Regions from separate parts of the Homo sapiens genome. Here all the other regions are linked to region 2. Evidence: promoter capture Hi-C in 16 types of primary human blood cells and fetal thymus (Javierre and others, 2016). All regions are on one chromosome and are shown on one strand. The core of a region is centred on a gene start or on the middle of the fragment in contact, and the rest is flanking DNA. Distances in the headings are between cores, read along the strand shown.

Region 1 (2,700 bases), core at 42-2,541, 170 kb after region 2:
CCGTCATCTGGGCCCCTTACCTGCCCTCCTTTATGTTGCATTACATCTACCTATATTGAAAATCCTACCAGAAAATGTCATAATTTTGCTTTTAACAAATTACAGCCTGGATGTTTTAAACATTATGTTATACGATTCTAGATCTTGTTGAAATCTTATGTATTATGTTATTTCTGCTTCAACAGGCAATTAGCCCAGTGGGATTAAGGCTCCAAACTAAGCCTGTGGTTTCAATTTCAGTTTTGTTTCACTGCCTTTCAGTTCTATTTGGACCTACTTCATATTTATACCTTTCAGCAGCCAGTCTGGAACTCAGAAAGTGATCTCTCCTATAGCTCAGTTCTGAAAGTTTATGGTATTCCCTTTAGGATCAGATTCATACATGCACAGCTTGGGAATGGGTCCAAAGGTTTATAAACAATTTTATGGATTCAGTTTCCTGAGCTCCTTTCTGCCTGTACTCTCCTCCTCTGTGCAGTTCTCTGGCCAAAGCATTGAGGCTTTATTTACTTCACTCTGCAGTGCACTTCCTACAACTGCTTACATCCACCTCACGAAAAGGTAAGAGGATAAAGAAAGAATAAAACATCAACAGAGGCTTGCCACACCCTACTGGGACTACAGGTCCTCATATCAAGGTGGACAATTCCCTTTCCTGGAGATTTAGGCTCTCGAGGGCCGCTAATACCACTGCTTTTGGTGGTGTCACTGGTGCTACCACAGGATTGCTTAGAGAGTGGGCAATGAAAGAAAATGAAAGGGAAAATATGGAAGGGCTAGGAAACTCTTTCTCAGTCTTCAAGCCAGAACTAGAGTGCTTCTTCTGAAGCTCTTTCTGTTATCACTGATGTCTACTTCTGGGTTTCAGACTGTACTGAGTCTAAGTCAGAAGAGACTGGAGACAAATTATGAGACTTTGAATTATTGTCTTCCCCAATCCGTCTGCTTCTATTTACTTTTCAGAATACTCAAATTGATTTTTGATGCATTTTTATCCAGACTTTATGGCTGCACTAGGAGGAAGAGACAGGATGGTGTTGTTCACTCCATCTTACCTAGAATTTTAACCTAGAAATGATATAGATGTTAAATGTAGGTATTAAAACCCGAAAAGGACCAGGAAAGCTATGAGAACTGCTCGGGCTATCATAGAAGGGTCAGTAAGGAGTTCTCTATGATGAGTGTTAGAGGTAGAGTGACCATCATCCAAGGTAGGACACTTTTTCAGAGTGAAAGAGAGTACTATAATAATTATACTTGGACAATAGGTGCAACCAGGAACTAGAACATATGGACACCTCAGAAGATGTGACAGGGAAATAATACTCTTTTCTAATTATATTCCACTGAGTCCAATTGTTCTATTGCAATCAGTCTCCTATACATAGAAAATTTGTTTTGGTTGTCTGCTTTGTTGTGGTTAATTGACATATAAGAAATATAAATAGCCCCCTGTCCCGAATGCTACCTTGTTATGTTCAGTGTACCTAGCAGCCTGGAAAGAGTGTATTCTGTAAATATTACAGCTGGCTATTTCTCCTTTTGTGTATGTGCTAACCTGAAGCTCTATTTGATTTTCCACGAAGCTAAGGTCAAAACGCTGGACATCTGAATAGCTTGGTTCTAGCATTATCTATCTTAGGATAAACTGAACAAAGTGGCCAAAAGAAGTCTGAGTCTTAAATCTCAGAGAGTGGCGGGCAGGAAGGCCAGGGATCCTGGCCATCACCAAAGCACAATGGCACAGTGACAATATGGGCTCCTCTTCACTGAGACCCTGCAATGATCCTTCCCACAAGAAACTTCCTCCAAGAATAATTTATACCCTTTAACTCATTGTTAACTTTATCACTGAAATTTCCAACAAGGATGTTGCTTGGTGCCAAAGCCACAGTGGTTTTTATGATGTGGGTGCCTCTGTGAATAAAGAGCAGAAGAGTGTTTCACGCAGGCCCCAAGACGACAATGACTTTTAGCCACTCTGAACTTGGATCACATCCAGACTGGTGGGTGTGACACACTGCATGTGAATGAGTCCAGACATTGCTTTTATTTATTGCTCAGATGATAAATCATTTTATTCCTTCAGAAAAGACAGAGTATAAGAGCTTGATGTTTATACGTGAGTGGAACACTATTTTAACTGCAGGTTAAACTCTGGTAAAGGAAACACACTTATGAGGAGGAAATTGGCCTCGTCTATCAGAAACAGTTTCATGGCCCTGCAGCCCATCACCTTATTACTTAGGAGAACTTAAAGGGAGACGCCCAGATCGGAAGCCCATAGGATCGCCAGCCTCAGCAGAAGGTTCAGGCTACAGCTCTGTTCACATTCCATTCTTGCTGCTGTTTAACCAGTGTATATCCTTATTCCCCAGACTCTTAGCTGCACTGCTGACTCTGGCCAGTGTCTCTCTGCTTTGTATGTCACTGCAAGTGCATTCCTTGTCTCTTCATTGGCCTGATCATTTTGGTCCAGTTGGTCTGTACTTCCAGGGGCCCAGGGTAAGGATTTACACTTTTATACCTAACACAAAGATCTCTGGCCGACATCACAAGGAGGAGCTGAAATTAACTCTACTCTTCTTTCCAAGCCCATATCCTGGCACAGACTGCATCTCCCCCCGCCCCCAAAAAAAGGGATTCTTCTTCTAGTTCATCCACCCAGTGTGGGCACTTCGCATGAGGACACAGTAGAAA
Region 2 (2,700 bases), core at 103-2,602:
ATCACCTCGCCCGGCCAATTTTTTATTTTTGTACTGTTTGGTCTTGCTATGTTGCCCATGATGATCTTGAACTCCTGGCCTCAAGGGATCCTCACGTCTGGGCCTCCCAGTGTGCTGGGATTACAGGCTGGGCCATTGTCCTGGGCCCAGAGTTAATTATTTTTAAATATGCATCTCACCTCACTGGCCTCAGCCACCCCGAAGCAAAAGCTTCCTGGAGAGTGACAGCCTCAACCCAATAGAGGGAGGAGAAAGGGCGTTCCTATTGCAGCTGCAAGCACTCAGGTGTCCCTGGTCCCCTTCCATGCACCTCATTAGTCAGGCGCACAGCAGGGTCTGTGTCACTGCCAAGGCGCCTCTCTCCTGTAGCATCCAGGGTTTTAACCACATTATGCATAGCTCCGGGGTTCGTCGGCACCTCTCTCCCTGCAGGTGAGACTGGTACACTTCAATAAACAGATCTCACTCAACTTAAGCAGAGAGCTGACAAACTTGGCGTTCCGTGCGGCAGAAGTAAGCAGCAATCGCTGAGTTTGTAGAACTTACACTTGGGGCCATTTCAAGGCCAATGTTCCCTTAAGAACCAAAACGCGAAACTGCTCTTCCAAGGGTCCTTTTCAACCAGAAGAAGCTGCTCCATCTGTCGTCCCTGCCCTGATTCAAGATGAGGCGGTCACTATCTAGAGGTCAGCTGGCTGACCCGGTCACCCTCCAGGTGTCCCCCCGAGATCGCCCCCTCCCATTCCCCACAAGTCCAGTTCGCTCACCAATCTTGGCCAGGGAGGCCAGCAGGATCCAAAGGGTGATCTCGAAGGGGATCTGCACGTGGGGGTAATCCAGCGTAAACACAGGCAGCCGGCTCTCCTCGAACAGCGTCGTTCCGGGAGCCACCACGCTCGCAGGGCTAGGCGGGCTGGAACTGGTGCCCATGGCCCTCGGCGCGTTCAGCAAGGTCTCCGCCAGGGCGCCCACGGGCCCCGCCACCTGCAGGAGCAGCAGCAACAGCATCGGAGGCAGTGGCGCCCGCAGGCTCCTCCAGTTGCCCAGTGGTTCCATGGGTGCCGCCGGTTGCCGCCAAGGGGACCGGCGGTTGGCCCTCCGAGCGCTCAACGCATCGCGCCCGGGCTGCTCAGCCCGCTCCGCCCTGCCCCGTGCAGGGCAGGGCAGCGACAGCCACCCGCCGCTGCTGCGGCACCGGGTCTCTGCAACCAGAGGGCTAGGTCCTCGCTGCGAGCAGGCGCACTGCCTGGCGAGGCACGTGCAGGGCGACGAGAGGCCGCTGCGCGTACCCTCAGCAGCCCTCAGCCGCCCTCCGCCGCCGGCCGCCTGCCCATGCCGGTGCGCTGCTCTCCAGCCGCAGCGGCAGGCCCTGCCCAGGGCGGCCCGCGGGCGGGGGCGGGGCGGGCGCGGCGCCCAAGCCGCAGGGCAGGAGGACAAGGGGACCTGGCCGGCACACCGCGCACCTGCCCGAGCCCGCGGGGAACGCGGGGCCCCAGTGACCGCGGGGGCGATGGCTGCCCTCCCTTCGCGCAGGCACCGCGCGCCAAGACCCGCCACCCCCAGAGCCAGCGAACTGTGGGTGGAATCGCCGCAACGGGCGCATGGTGGCCGGAGCTGTCTCCGCCCCGGAGGCAGCGTCGGACGTCCATCCAGTGAAGGAACCAGCGCGACCCACGAGTCGCGCCCTTCCCTCCTCCCCCGCCCCCGCAGGCTCCTCCAAGGGGACACCCCGGTGCGCTGGGCGCGCGGGGAGGCGCCACAGGCTCGCGGTCCGGAGGAGAAGCCCGGGCCGGTGGAGGAGGAGTGCTGTCACCCCAGCCTGGCGCTGCGGAGGCCAAGACAAGGCATGGGATTCTCTGGACGTACAGAAAGTTTAGGAAAGCCAAATTTTGTTTCCTTTCCGAGAGTTATCAACTCGCGCACAAGGTGCTCTGAACAGGGAAACTCCCTGCGCGGAACTCAGTGTTCCCACGCCCCCACGGAATCGGAATCCTGTTCTCTCCTCTTGCCACATTGTGCTGCTTTCACCCATTTGCTACACTGTCGCTGCCACTTTTCTTCTCCCTCCCCCAGCTCACGTAAAAAAAACCAAAACATCTTTCTCCGCTTTTAGGCTTAGAGGTGTACATGTCCAAGAGCATAAGAAATATAATTATTTCATGGAAAACCAGTGATTTGCCTCGCTCAGATTGACTTGCTCCGCTAATTACAGGACAGGCTGTGGTCAGGAAAAGAAAGGAAGCGTGATTCTTCTTCTGGATCTAAAAGGGCTTTCTCATGCAGAGCCAACCTTTCCTGTCCTTCAGAGCGCCTCCTTCACTGGTTGCGATCTCACTGTTTGAGCATCTTTATCGCCAGAAACCGAAATGAGCACAAAGGGGACTAGTTGCCATTCAATTAACTGAAAGTTTTCCCTTTGATATTTATGAAATAAAATCCTTCTCTTTTCTTAATCTTTGATGTGTCAAAACACGTGGCTTCTACTATTAAACAAACACCAGGCAGTTCGACCTTCAAAGCCGTTTTTTTTTTTTTTTTCTTTCAAAGTTCTAACATAGAAAATCAGTGAGATGTCAGCAGAGGGTACAAGAAAAAAAAATCCTCCACCTGCATAGAAGAAAATAAGGAACAGTCCTCTTTGGGTCTTCAAAGTAATGGAGGGACAAGTCCAGGCTAAAAAGAGAGAAGAATTCTGGGAGA
Region 3 (2,700 bases), core at 108-2,607, 130 kb after region 2:
TCATTGCTTCAGAGGGTGTAAGCTCCAAGCTTTGGCAGCTTACACATGGTGTTGGGCCTGTGGGTGCACAGAAGTCAAGAATTGAGGTTTGGGAACCTCTGCCTAGATTTCATAGAATGTATGGTAATGCCTGGATGTCCAGGCTGAAGTTTTCTGCAGGGGCAGGGCCCTTATGGAGAACTTCAGCTAGGACAGTGCAGAAGGAAAATGTGGAGTTGGAGCCCCCACACAGACTCCCCATTTGGGTGCTGCCTAGTGGGGCTGTGAGAAGAAGGCCACAGGCCTCCAGACCCCAGAATGGCAGATCCACTGACAGCTTGTACCTTGAAAAGCCACAGACCCTCAACACCAGCCCATGAAAGCAGCTGGGGTGGTGGGGGAGGTGGGGGCTGTACCCTGCAAAGCCACAGGGGCAGAGCTGCCCAAGACCATGGGAACCTACTTGCATTAGCATGACCTGGATGTGAGACATGGAATCAAAGGAGATCATTTTGGAGCTTTAAGATTTGACTGCCCTTCTGGATTTTGGACTTGCATGGGGCCTGTAGCCCCTTCATTTTGGTCAATTTCTCCCATTTGGAAGAGGTGTATTTACCCAGTGCCTTTACCCCCACTGTATCTAGGAAGGAACTAACTTGCTTTTGATTTTACAGGGTCATAGGTGGGAGGGACTTGCCTTGTCTGAGATGAGACTTTGGACTGTGGACTTCTGAGTTAATGCTGAAATGAGTTAAGACTTTGGGGAACTATTGGGAAGGCATGATTGGTTTTGAAATGTGAGGACATGAGATTTGGGAGGGGACAGCGGTAAAACAATATGATTTGGCTGTGTTCCCACCCAAATCTCATCTTGAATTGTAGCTCGCATAATCCCTACTTGTCATGGGAGGGACCCAGTGGGAGGTAATTGAATCATAGGGTGGGTTTTTCTCATGCTGTTCTCGTGATAATGAATAAGTCTCATGAGATCTGGTGGTTTTATAAATGGCAGTTCCCCTGTACATGCTCTCTTGCCTGCTACCATGTAAAACGTGGCTTTGCTCCTCCTTCGCCTTCCACCATGATTGTGAAGCCTCCCCAACTATGTGGTGCTTGAGTCCATGAAACCTCTTTTTCTTTATAAATTACCCAGTCTCGGGTATTTCTTCATTAACAGTAAAAAAAAAAAAAAAAAAAAAAAAAAAAAAAAAAAGCATTAGTACAAATGGGAAGAGAAATAAAAAAATTCAGTTGAAAAAGCAGCAGAGTGTGAGCAAGCGACCAAATGCATCCCTGATGAGGCTCCGAAATGACAATGTAATAGCTATTAGTACTGCTTATCCAATATTTCTTTCCCTTCTAGGAATCTTGTAGGATTGCACTTCTAGTCTCTTTGAGGTTGGTTGTCACCATGTGATTATGCCTGGCCAACTTTTGAGTTTGAGAGTTTTTGTTTGTTTTTTTCTCAAGAAAGAATTACAAGAGAGAGTTTCAAATAGAAGAGATATATGTCATTTCCAGAATGGGGCATTTGCTTGCTGAGGTGAGACCCTCCAGAAATCTCTCTTTCCTCCAGCACAGTGACCAGCAATGTTCAATATGGTAACTGCTCTATAAGCTAAAGACCTTGAGTAAACATTATGAAGGGAGAGACCTGTTGGCTAGCAAAAGGCAAGTAGTACAAGTAAGAAATAAACCTTTGTTGTTTTTGGCTATTTAGGTTTGGAGAGATGCTTATTACACAGCATAATCAAGTTCATCCTGATGGTAAAAGATCTATGAACTTTTGCTTCTGAAATTCCTAAAAGCAGCTTGGTTCTAGATGAACCTTTGTGACACCTCATCATAAAGCACTTATTATTCCTGGGTTCCTGAGGGGTCAGCTACGGGTTGAATCATGCCCCCCTCTCCAAATTTATATGTTGGGGTTTAACTGCCAGTACCTGATAATGTGACTGCATATAGAGACAGCATCTTTCAAGAGGTCATTAAGTTAAAATGAGATCATAAGGGTGGGGCCTTAATCCAATATGATTGGTGTCCTTATAAGAAAATGAAGAGATACTAGGGAGGGTCACACAGAAGAAAGGCCACATAAGGACAAAGCAAGAAGGTAGCTGCCTGCAAGGCAAGGAATGAGGCCTCAACAGAAACCAACCCTGCCCACATCTTGTTCTTGGACTTCCAACCTCCATAATGTGAAAGAATAAAAGTCTTTCATATTTCAGAGATTGTTTCAGCCCCCCAATCTCTGCTATTTTATTACAACAGCCCTAGAGGGCTAATACAGAGGGCTATGTCTTCCTCATCGCCTTGCATATCTTTACAATTAATCTTCACTGCTTGAGCTTGCCATAACTCAGTTTCTTAAAACAAAAAGCCTAACTAATTACTGACCCTTTATTTGTTTTACTGTCAAGTTAAAAAAAAAAAACGTTGGAAGTTAAGAGTCACAACATAATACAATAAGAATGATCTTTCCTGCATGCCAAATAATGGAAAAATGCAAAGAATATCATAAAGACCTGTAGTAAACAACCTGACTCAAAAAATTAAATGATGAACCCAGTTCATTTTCTAGCTTGTATTAAGGAGCTCTGGCATAGTAAACTCTGTCATGGGCAGTTTATTGGCAACCACCTTCTCTGACTTTCCAACCACAAAAGGAAACCAACTAAGAAGACCAGCAATTACCTAGCAAGCTTGCATAACAATGTGAAA

The links. Contacts are between HindIII fragments. The CHiCAGO score rates a contact against its expected background, and 5 or more counts as called.
Region 1: a contact is called between a fragment that was not itself captured here and the fragment with the promoter of SLC9A2 in region 2, in 3 of 17 cell types (endothelial precursors, M1 macrophages and M2 macrophages). The highest score is 8.2, in endothelial precursors.
Region 3: a fragment that was not itself captured here is called in contact with the fragment with the promoter of SLC9A2 in region 2 in 2 of 17 cell types (M2 macrophages and endothelial precursors); the score reaches 5.7 in M2 macrophages.

The regions. Positions count from the first base shown.
Region 1 is chr2:102,453,020-102,455,719 of GRCh38, reverse strand. No RefSeq gene overlaps it. Among named protein-coding and RNA genes, the nearest start is that of SLC9A4, 19 kb to the left of the region's middle. The HindIII fragment of the contact is 4,240 bases long and covers 1-2,700 here.
Region 2 is chr2:102,618,205-102,620,904 of GRCh38, reverse strand. SLC9A2 (solute carrier family 9 member A2) reads right to left here and starts at 1,352. Exons shown (of 12, transcript NM_003048.6): 1 at 768-1,352. The coding sequence starts at 1,056. RefSeq lists a silencer at 1,635-1,744. The HindIII fragment of the contact is 5,203 bases long and covers 213-2,700 here.
Region 3 is chr2:102,489,810-102,492,509 of GRCh38, reverse strand. All of the region lies in intron 2 of SLC9A4 (solute carrier family 9 member A4), which reads right to left. Among named protein-coding and RNA genes, the nearest start is that of SLC9A4, 18 kb to the right of the region's middle. The HindIII fragment of the contact is 2,652 bases long and covers 32-2,683 here.